Regions from separate parts of the Homo sapiens genome. Here all the other regions are linked to region 1. Evidence: promoter capture Hi-C in 16 types of primary human blood cells and fetal thymus (Javierre and others, 2016). All regions are on one chromosome and are shown on one strand. The core of a region is centred on a gene start or on the middle of the fragment in contact, and the rest is flanking DNA. Distances in the headings are between cores, read along the strand shown.

Evidence for each region. Contacts are between HindIII fragments. The CHiCAGO score rates a contact against its expected background, and 5 or more counts as called.
Region 2: a fragment that was not itself captured here is called in contact with the fragment with the promoter of SFT2D1 in region 1 in 1 of 17 cell types (neutrophils); the score reaches 5.2 in neutrophils.
Region 3: a fragment that was not itself captured here is called in contact with the fragment with the promoter of SFT2D1 in region 1 in 1 of 17 cell types (M1 macrophages); the score reaches 5.4 in M1 macrophages.

What each region holds. Positions count from the first base shown.
Region 1 is chr6:166,341,204-166,344,336 of GRCh38, reverse strand. SFT2D1 (SFT2 domain containing 1) reads left to right here and starts at 1,792. Exons shown (of 8, transcript NM_145169.3): 1 at 1,792-1,918. The coding sequence starts at 1,856. LOC100289495 (a long non-coding RNA gene) reads right to left here and starts at 1,706. Exons shown (of 2, transcript NR_040022.1): 1 at 1,190-1,706. RefSeq lists an enhancer at 967-1,860 and a silencer at 1,922-2,081. The HindIII fragment of the contact is 4,850 bases long and covers 1-2,326 here.
Region 2 is chr6:166,204,261-166,207,842 of GRCh38, reverse strand. No RefSeq gene overlaps it. Among named protein-coding and RNA genes, the nearest start is that of LNCDAT, 38 kb to the right of the region's middle. RefSeq lists an enhancer at 1,251-2,450. The HindIII fragment of the contact is 433 bases long and covers 2,054-2,486 here.
Region 3 is chr6:166,595,996-166,599,190 of GRCh38, reverse strand. All of the region lies in intron 1 of RPS6KA2 (ribosomal protein S6 kinase A2), which reads left to right. Among named protein-coding and RNA genes, the nearest start is that of RAMACL, 11 kb to the right of the region's middle. The HindIII fragment of the contact is 3,591 bases long and covers 1-3,195 here.

The sequences.
Region 1 (3,133 bases), core at 543-3,042:
CCGGCCAAATCCCACCAAAACCAAGGTAACAAGAGAGACCTCTGGTCGTTCTCATTGCTACACTCCCACTAGCGCCATGGCAGTTTACAAATGCCATGGCAATATCACGAAGTTAGCCTATATGGTCTAAAAAGGGGAGGCATGAATCCACCCCTTGTTTAGCATATCATCAAGAAATAACCATAAAAATGGGCAACCAGCAGCCCTGGTAATAGACAGCCCTGCTCTGCCTATGGAGTAGCTATTCTTTTGTCCTTCTACTTTTTTTTTTTTTTTTTGAGACGGAGTCTCGCTCTGTCGCCCAGGCTGGAGTGCAGGGGCGCGATCTCGGCTCACTGCAAGCTCCGCCTCCCGGGTTCAAGCAATTCTCTGCCTCAGACTACCGATGTTCCTCTACTTTTTAAATAAACTTGTTTTCACTTGCCCTGAATTCTTTTTGCGCAAGATCCAAGAACCCTCTTTTGGGGTATGGATCCGGACCCCTTTCCCGTAACACTTACGGACATACTCTCTTATTCAACAGAAACATAGTTTTATTCTATAGATTTTACAATCTATTTTCTGACCTTTTAAAGTTAAGGACATAAGGATAAGACTTCTCATATTAGTATGAACAGGCCACATAGAAATATCTTCTGCCTAAAGGAAAAGGATGCTGAGCATTGGACCGTTTCATCACAAGAAGGCGCGACTTGCTTTCCTAGGGTTCCTGTGGTATTTGTTTTTATCTAATTGAGTTTAGATAAAATCTCTACTGAGGCAGTAGGATGGACAATGAAACTTTTTGAGGATCCACCTTTTAACTGAAAGATTTTAGGGAGGAAATGGAGTGGGCAAAGTAATCAAAAGAACAGGCATTCTCATTACCATCTTACCAAGCCTAGAAGCAAACAGAAGAGCAAAACCTATCACTTAATGACTTCTGGAGACCATATTAGACAGGCAGCCCTGATTTTTAATCTCCTTTCTTAGCATGGTGGAAAATGAGAGAGAGAAAAATGCCACTTCCCCATTTCTTAGTGTTTGTTCATCCAGCACGAGCCGGAGAACAGTAAACGCTTGTTCAATGGTTTCACTGTTCACACAAAACTGGAAAAATGGGTTGCATTAGCTATTCCTTTTATAAATAAGATTTCACTCTTTCAAACTCCTAGCTGACCAGTGAACTGAGTAAAGAAATAGCTCTCACAAGGGCAAAGGAGTGAGGCAGCCTCTTGCTATTTCTCCTGAGACGGTCTGAAATACAGCTCCTCGCTTTAATCCTGAGGCAGGTGTTTGTGTCTCCGGATGAGGACACCCAGCTGGGAAGGCTAGCGACGCCCCCAGGGCCACCTCATGGGTGGCAGGGCGCTCTTCGGAGCACGGCCACCTGCCCGCAGGAGCCCTCCGCTCTCCGATTCCAGGCGAGGGGAGGCGCATTCGGGGCCTCGACTTCTGGGAACCCGGGGTGCCGCGGACCCGCCCAGCAAGGCCCCTCGCGGGGCCCGGAGGACGCCAAGTGCAGGGTTCAGTGGTCGTGCCCCAGTCGGGTCTACACTCAATGGCTGTGCGCCAGCTGTGGGCAGGGGGTCCACACCCGCGCTGTGTCCCCGCGCGTTACCACGGCGCACCTCGCGGACAGTGGGAAGGGATAGCCCCACCATCAGCGCCCACTCCGCGGACTTCACGGACCACTACCGGGTCCGAGAGAAAGGCTGGTGAGCATGCGCGCATTGCTACGGCGGCCGCGCTGACGCACAGGAAGCGGGCGGGACCGGACTTCCGGCTGGTCTGTGGGGTTTCGGGTTCGGGGTTTCCTGGTGGGCGTCAGGGGCAGGCAACAGAGTGGCGGCCGCTACGGCCCTGTAACAGGGCCATGGAGAAGCTGCGGCGAGTCCTGAGCGGCCAGGACGACGAGGAGCAGGGCCTGACTGCGCAGGTAGCGAACTTGCGCCCTCGTCCAGTCCCGGGGCTGCCCGCTGGCCCCGGCCGCACTGAGGACCGGCCGAGCGGGTGGGGTGGGTGCGAGGCCGGGGGTCTGGGACTCCTCTGCCCGGCTGGTTGATTTAGGAGGGCTCCGCCTGCTTCCTGGGTAGAATTTGAGAACTTTCCAGTTTTCCATGCGGTCTACTTAAACCCACTTTGAGGCCCCCCCCCGACTCTCCCATCTGGCCTTCTGACTTAGGAATCCGCTAACGTCTGCCCTCGCTTTCCCAAATAATCCATCGCTCCCACGTACTATTTGGTTTTCTGAGCCTGGTGCGGGGTCTGGCCTCGGGCTGTGCAGCGTAAGTAGCTATGCAGGGCATTTATCCTGCAAGCTGCAGTGAGCCGAGACCCTAAAGCTTGTTGCATCTGTTTGTCTTTGGAGGTAAAGGTGGTGTTATGTGTGTGTTTGCTGGGGGGTGGTCTTTTGGAAATAGGGAGACTGGAGGAAAAATAAACAGGACATTGGTAAGTGAAATAATATTGAATTAAAATTTTTCTGTTAAGGCAGTGAGCCCTGGTAAGAGATTTTTTTTTTTTTCTTAATAAAAGCCCTTGTGTCTGCGCCTTACCAGCGAGACTTGATAAGGGTTACTTCCTCCAGCAAGAAGGTTAAAAGTAGCAGTGGAGCAGGAACTGCGGTGTAAGTTTTTTTGTTATTGCATGCGATTATATTGCACGTTATTGTGTGCTGTCGCAGAAGTTGGACGTTTAAAATTGAATTGTATTTCATAAGGATCTTCTATTTGTCTCTCCTGACTTCCTTGTCATTATACTTACTCAGCACTTGGTGTGGGTAGAGTTCTGGGCTACAGTTTTGGGTTCAGAGAGTGTAAGACAAGTATCTGTTCTCATTGCACTCTGTAACTCTGTATATTACCACAGCCACATGTGGCCAATGAATTTTTTTTTTTTTTTTTTTTAGATGGAGTCTTGCTTTGTCGCTCAGGCCTGGAGTGCAGTGGCGTGATCTCGACTCGCTGCAACCTCTGCCTCCCGGGTTCAAGCAATTCTCCTGCCTCAGCCTCCTGAGTAGCTGGGATTACAGGCACCTGCCACCATGCCCTGCTAATTATTTTGTGTTTTTAGTAGAGATGGGGGTTTCACCATGTTGGTCAGGCTGGTCTCGAACTCCTGACCTCAAGTGATCCGCCCACCTTGACCTCCC
Region 2 (3,582 bases), core at 1,021-3,520, 140 kb after region 1:
ACCCTCTACTGGCATGGTCTTTCTCATGCCCACCCCATCCTGAGGCTGTCCCAGGACCCAGCCTCGCTTACTTTGTTAGCAGGCACTCAGGTGTGATGGGAAGGGGCTCCTGGCCAACACCAAAGACAGCCCTGACACTCAGGAAAGGCGTTTAGGGGCTGCGTGCCAGGAATGGGGGACAAAAACCCAATTTATTTAAAATAAAATTTTTTAATTTAAAAATTGTTTCAGAAATTAAAAAAAAATAATTTTTTTTTTTTTTTACTTTTGAAAGCTGTTTAACTTTTTTTTTTTTTTTTTAAATGAAATAGATTTCTTGTCATTCCACAGGGTGGTAGAGATCAAATCCAGGATGGGACATGAGGGCTTAACCCTAACCCTAACCCCTAACAGGAAAGACCTGTGCTTCTCAAGCAGGGGAAGCACCCCCAGGAACTGAGGAGAAAAGGGCCCTTCAAGAGCAGGTAGTGCACAATTCCTGGGCATTGACTGCACCTGAAGATACGCGCAAAAAACCATTCTTACAACGAGAAAGCAAACACAAGTACTTTAAGCAGTAAAAGGAAAGTTAACGAGATTTTTTGAGTAAAACATGTGACTTCAAAGAGATTTTTACCCTTGAAGTGAGCTGAGTCCCAGATGTGCTGGGCTGTGAAGTCGCCTTCCTCTGACACTGGTGGGTCTTCAGGGAAGCCGGGGAGAAACTGTATTAGTCTGTTTTCACCCTGTTGGTGAAGACATACCTGAGACTGGGTAATTTATAAAGAAAAAGAGGTTTAATGGACTCACAGTTCCACATGGCTGGGGAGGCCTCACAATCATAGTGGAAGGCAAAAGGCATGCCTTACATAGCCGCAGACAAGAGAGAGTGAGGACCAAGCAAAAGGGTTTTCCTCGTAGAAAACCATCAGATCTCGTGAGACTTACTCACTGCCATGAGAACGGTATGGGGGAACTGCCCCTGTGATTCAATTATCTCCTACCAAGTCCCTCCCACAACAAGTGGGAGTGATGGGAGCTACAATTCAAGATGAGATATGGGTGGGAACACAGCCAAACCATACCAGAAACAGTACCTTTTTTTTTTTTTTTTTTTTTTTAAGATCTATAAATATAAAGGCAGTGTAGAAACCTCAGGGAGCCTGGACTTGGCACAGCCTAGAACTAACACAGTTCAGATTCGCTTTGCCTGGAGGACTGGAAGGATGGGCCTGCCTGGGGTATGAGAGACCAGAGCTTTCTGGCAAAAATCCTCAGCCCAAGGTTAGGCACAGTGCAAATTTGGTCCCAGGACATCAGGCCAGTTTGAGAGGCCCAAAGAGCTATGCCTGAGTCCCAGAGGCCAGTGGATTAGTTCAAGAACATTAAACCAAGGTGTGTGTTGCAAGAAATTTCGCTAAGGTGTTTGTTGCAAAAGATACATTAAAATCTTAAGTCCTGGGGCCTGTGAAGTGGCCTTCTTTGGAAATAGGATTTTTGCAGATGACATCGAGATGTGAGCTAGGATGAGGTCATCAGGGTGGGTCCTAATCCAACATGACTGATGTCCTTACTGAAGAACATCTGAAGAGGAGGAGAGACACACGGGGTCATGGCTGTGTGAAGACGGAGGTGGAGACCGGGCTGACGCACCAGCAATGCCAGAAGAGGGAAGAGGGGAGGGAAGCTTCCCAGGAGGGAGCACGGCCCTGCCGATACCGTGATGTCAGGCTTCTGGGATCCAGAACTGTAAGGGAACAAATTTCTGTTGTTTAAAGGCACCCAGTTTGTGATGCTTTACAACACACCACAAATGATGGATGACGAATACAGCATCCATCATAACACAGAAGCCCAGTGACCCAGCAGCCGCGGTGGCGCGCTCTGGCAATTTCCAAAGAGACCGCTGCTAGCGTCCCAGCAGTTATATCCACACTGAGTTAGACACTAATGGGGTTTGGGACACAAGACCCTGAAATCTGGCACCTTGCATATTCCCGCAGTTCACTGCCATCAGGTGACACCCGCTCTGTGTACTCACCCTTTTCCACCACTGTCCGCTCTCCATCAAGCTTAGCCTAAAGATACACAGGCCTCCCTGTGCCTTTTGGTCTTCATATCTAAAGGTGCCTGTGTCATGTAAAAATTACATACAATGAAATAAATTCGCCTGCTTTTCTCTTGTTTATCTGTCTTTTATGATAGGTGTCTCAGCCATAAACCTAGCAATGGGTGAGGAAATAACTTTTTCTTCCCTTACAGAACTGGATTCAGCACCGCAAAACTGAAACCGCCTCCAGAAAAGAGCCTCTTGCGAGAACGCAGAGGCTTGCCTTTCTCTCCTGTCGCTGAGAGTCCCTGGCTGGCTTGGGGACCCCATGGTGCTGCTCGCTCTTGCCTGTTGCTGGTGGGGGCTTCCTGCTCCTGACCTCATACTACCTCTGCGGCAGAGGGCCTGAGACAGAGGGGATCCCTGCCCATCCCGCCAGCCCTCTTCTCAGGAAGCTTCTGGAATCTCCACCCAAAAACTTCACTGACATTCTGCTGACCAGAGCGTGGTCATATGGCCACCCCATCTCACAAGGGGGCTGGAAAAATGCATTTTCTTCAGCTGCGCACCTTATACCCCACAGCAGTACCTACGGGCCTGGTAGTGAGGAAGAGGATGGGTAACGGAAGTTAGGTCAGCAGCTAGCAGTGTTGGCCACCAGGGGAGAGTCACAGCCACTTTCTGGGCCTGGTGGTGACTTCACATTGGTTGCCAGGAGGATGATTTTGAAGATACCGTAAGTGTTAGTAATAGTAACGCTGCTACCGGAGTGCTAGGAATGATGGCAGCTGGGGCTGGAGCTCCTGCTGAGCTGGGGAGAGAGAGCCTGGCTGTGCTTTCTTGTTTCAGTTTGTTTTGCTTTGTTTGTTTTACCTGCAGGCCTGTCGAGCCCTCTTGTAACTAATCTTCCAGTGTCTGCCGCTGAAGGTGTCCAGTAGCTAACTTCAGGACTCTGTCATCCCCTCTTCATTTGGGGGAATTTCCTCTACTTACTTGAAACATTCAGATTTTCCACTGTCAGTTTTGGGTGAATGAACTATGCTTATTACTTTTAATAAAAGTCTTCAAAATCTCATCAGTGCCATGTCTTTTTCTTAGGCCTTGAAAATCATTCTTGGTTTATTTTTGAGAAATATTTAGGCCAGGTGTCGTGGCTCATGCCTGTAATCCCAGCACTTTGCGAGGCTGAGGCAGGAGGATTACTTGAGGCCAGGCTGGGCCACATATCGAGATTCCGTCTCCACAAAAACTAAAAAATTAGCCAGATGTCATGGTGCATACCTGTAGTCCCAGCTACTTGGGAGACTGAGGTGGAAGGATGACTTGAGCCCAGGAGCTTGAGGCTGCAGTGAGCTATGACACTGCCAGTTCACTGCAGTATGGGCAACACAGTGACACCCTGTCTCAAAAAAAACACCAACATTAATTTAAAAAAATTCAAATAGTCATGAAAATCGTTCTTGATTTCAGTTTTAGAGTGCTGCTTATTATTTTGAAAGACTTAATCTTAGTTAAATTGTATGTTCTGTTTCCAAATTTCTCCTTACTTGTAA
Region 3 (3,195 bases), core at 178-2,677, 260 kb before region 1:
TTACCTTTCTAAAAACCTCTACCTGCTTTCAGTCCTTGATACCAATCCAGTGCTTCTTCAAACATCCTCAAGAGTGGTTGTTTACATATGGCACGCACCAGGTGACTCCTGCTCTGGATTCTTTAATTATTTCTTAGGATGAAATTTATCTGGAGAGATTTTGATCACCGAACCTGGGACAATAGTTACAGACCTGGACAAGCAGCAGTAACCCCTGAGACAGGCCGGGCTGGGCCCTGCCTGGGCATCGGACACCCCACTGTTTCAACCCCACCTGGAGGACCACTTGAGAGTGAGCCGTGTCTGATGGGGATGAGCTGAGTCCTGATCAGCTGTGGAATACAAGGATGGAGGCAGGAAAGAAGGGAGGTAGGAAAGAGCGGTGCTGTGTGCTTATACAAAGAAAAGCCTTGTTGTTTCCTGGACTGCCACAAAATCTACCAGAGTTGGGACATGATTTCTCTTCCTGACTCCATTATCTCAGAGAAAACAGGCTTCCTATTCCTGACGCAACGGGAAAGAATGTTGTATAAACAGAGGCGCTTAGAGCCAAAATGTTTAGAGCGTCTACCCACACCAACCACCCGTGACTCAGTGCATGATGGGCAGACTCCAGGCTGTTTCACCAAATGTCTTCAAGTTCAGAGGGTCATCTGATTCCAACTTCTCCATCCAGAATTGGTTTTGCAATGCCATTAGCTCCAAATGTGGCTTTTTATTCCTTTATTGTCCCTGCCTATCTACTTGGTAGAGAATCCAGTCTTAATTTTGCAAACCATTTAATTCATCCATAAGCCTCTCTAAACCATTCCTGTAAGAACATAAATGCCTATAAGAAAATAAAAGCGTGGTCTGTCTGCCCCCATTGCCTTTTGGAGGGATTCCTTCCACACCAAGTTAGGGAGGAGAACAAGGCATTATCCTGAACAGCAGGGAGGGAAAGCATCAAAGGAAATCAGAACGGTTCAACAAATGCCGTCCTGTGCTCCAATTTGGCCCCACAATGTCTTCTCTTCCTTTCTCCCCGCTCTCTCCTGAGAAGTGTTTTGTTTACTTTCTGCCTGAGAGGTGAAATAGTAAGGAAAATAATAGCAACAATTATGGTCATCAGGAGCATGTGAAATCAAACCATGCCTCTGTGCAATTTGCAGGTGTCTCTGGGACTGCTCCTGGACCCATTTAGATGGGAACAGAGTAGAACATTTTAATAGGGAAGAAAATACCATTTGCACAAAAGCTCTGTCTGTGGCATGACTGCAGTGGTTCTGACAGGAACTGGGTGATGAAAACCAACAATAGCACGGTGCCCGGCTGGGGCTGGCACACCAGAGAGCAGAGTCCTGCTCTCTAGAGCATCTCACCAGCCCGTGGACTCCGGAAATCTGTTTCTATTCTCTTCTCGATGATGCCGTCACCCATTGGATATTTCTTGTCTCTTGATGTTTAATAATATGAAATGGTCATTTTGAGGCTACTAGTTAAATCCATGAAAAATTCATGAAAATTTTGGCTTGCCTACAGTGTCTATTAGAGCTGCAATCTTGCATGTTATCAGCTCCATGATCATTGCATTCCAGAACGATTGTTTCCAAAATGGCTTACGTTTTCTTTATGTGTTAAATGTCTCCTCTATCTTTATTCCAATCCTCCTACCTTTTTTCCCAGAAGAAGAGATGCTCTTCCTCCTTCTGAAGCCAGTTCCTCCTCCACCCTGCAGCCCAGCACCCGCTCCACTGCCGTCCTTTTCCCCAGCTCTGTGTCCTGTAGAGATGCTCAAATGGCCCCCATGGCCTGGCTGCCAGGTGTTGGCTTCACATTTGTCTCTTGTCCTTTTTTTCTCCCTTCAGTGACTGCCACCTCCTCAGAGATGAGCTGTCTCCACCTGTTGAGTCCCATTCGTCCTCGGGGGCTGTGTCCTTTGGGGCCTCACGGGGTGCCTCGCCACCAGCTCTGCCCTCTAGAGACTCCATTCTTTCGACTTATCCCGTAGCCTATGTCCCCAGCCACCTGTGCCCCTCTCTTGCCTCCCATGGCGTGCACTATCTTGTTTCTTTTCCTTTCTCTCCATCTCACTTGGTCTCGTTTTCGTGGGTGAACACCATGGGCTGGTTCTCAGCATCTGTGGCCCCTCCCCGTGTCCTTTCTCCATCTGTTCCCATGACTGTGCCTGACATCACATGTGCCCATCACCCAGGCCTCTCTCTGCAGCTCCCAACTGGCGCATCTGTGGTGAATCACCACAGTCCCCTCGAAATCCCCCTCACCCCTACATAGCTTGTCCATCCACGGTGGGACAGCTCTGCTGGTCCCACAGTAAAGATTTCAGTGGTGGAAACCCCCCACCCTGTTTGTCTCCCATATTCAGGCCCAGTGTTTCCTCACAGAGTGTATTAGTCAGGGTTCTGTAGAGGGACAGGACTAATAGGATAGATGTATATGTGAAAGGGAGTTTATTAAGGAGAATTGACTCACACCATCACAAGGTAAAGTCCCACTATAGGCCATCTGCAAGTTGAGGAGCAAGGAAGCCAGTGGTGGATCAGTCTGAGTCCCAAAACCTCAAAATTAGGGAAGACTACAGTGCAGCCTTCAGTCTGTGAGCGAAGGCCCGAGAGCCCCTGGCAAACCACTGGTGTAAGTCTTAGATTCCAAAGACTGAAGAACTTGGAGTCTGATGATCGAGGGTAGGAGGCATCTAGTACAGGAGAAAGATGAAGACCAGAAGACTCAGCAAGTCTGCTCTTCCATCTTCTCCTGCCTGCTTTATTCTAGCTTCACTGGCAGCTGATGAGATGGTGCCCACCCAGATTGAGGGTGGGTCTGCCTCTCCCAGTTCACCGAGTTGAATGTTAACCTCCTTCGGCAGCACCCTCACAGACACACCCAGGAACAATACTTTGCATCCTTCAATCCAGTAAAGTTGACAGTCAGTATTAATCATCACACAGAGTATTATTGACCATAAACTCAAACCGACCTCCTTCCTTGATCATCACGTGGACCTTACCGCCTATCTTCCCCATGGCCTGTGACCCCTGTCTGGAGGCCGCCCCGCCTTCCAAACCTCCTGCACATCAACTCTAGTGAGTGCAGTTTGCCTGGCATCACAGTGCAAGTCACATATTTTAAACCCATTGAAAGCCTTTCCCTTTCTGTGAGATAAGATACCAATGACTCTTCAAAGATTTCCATATC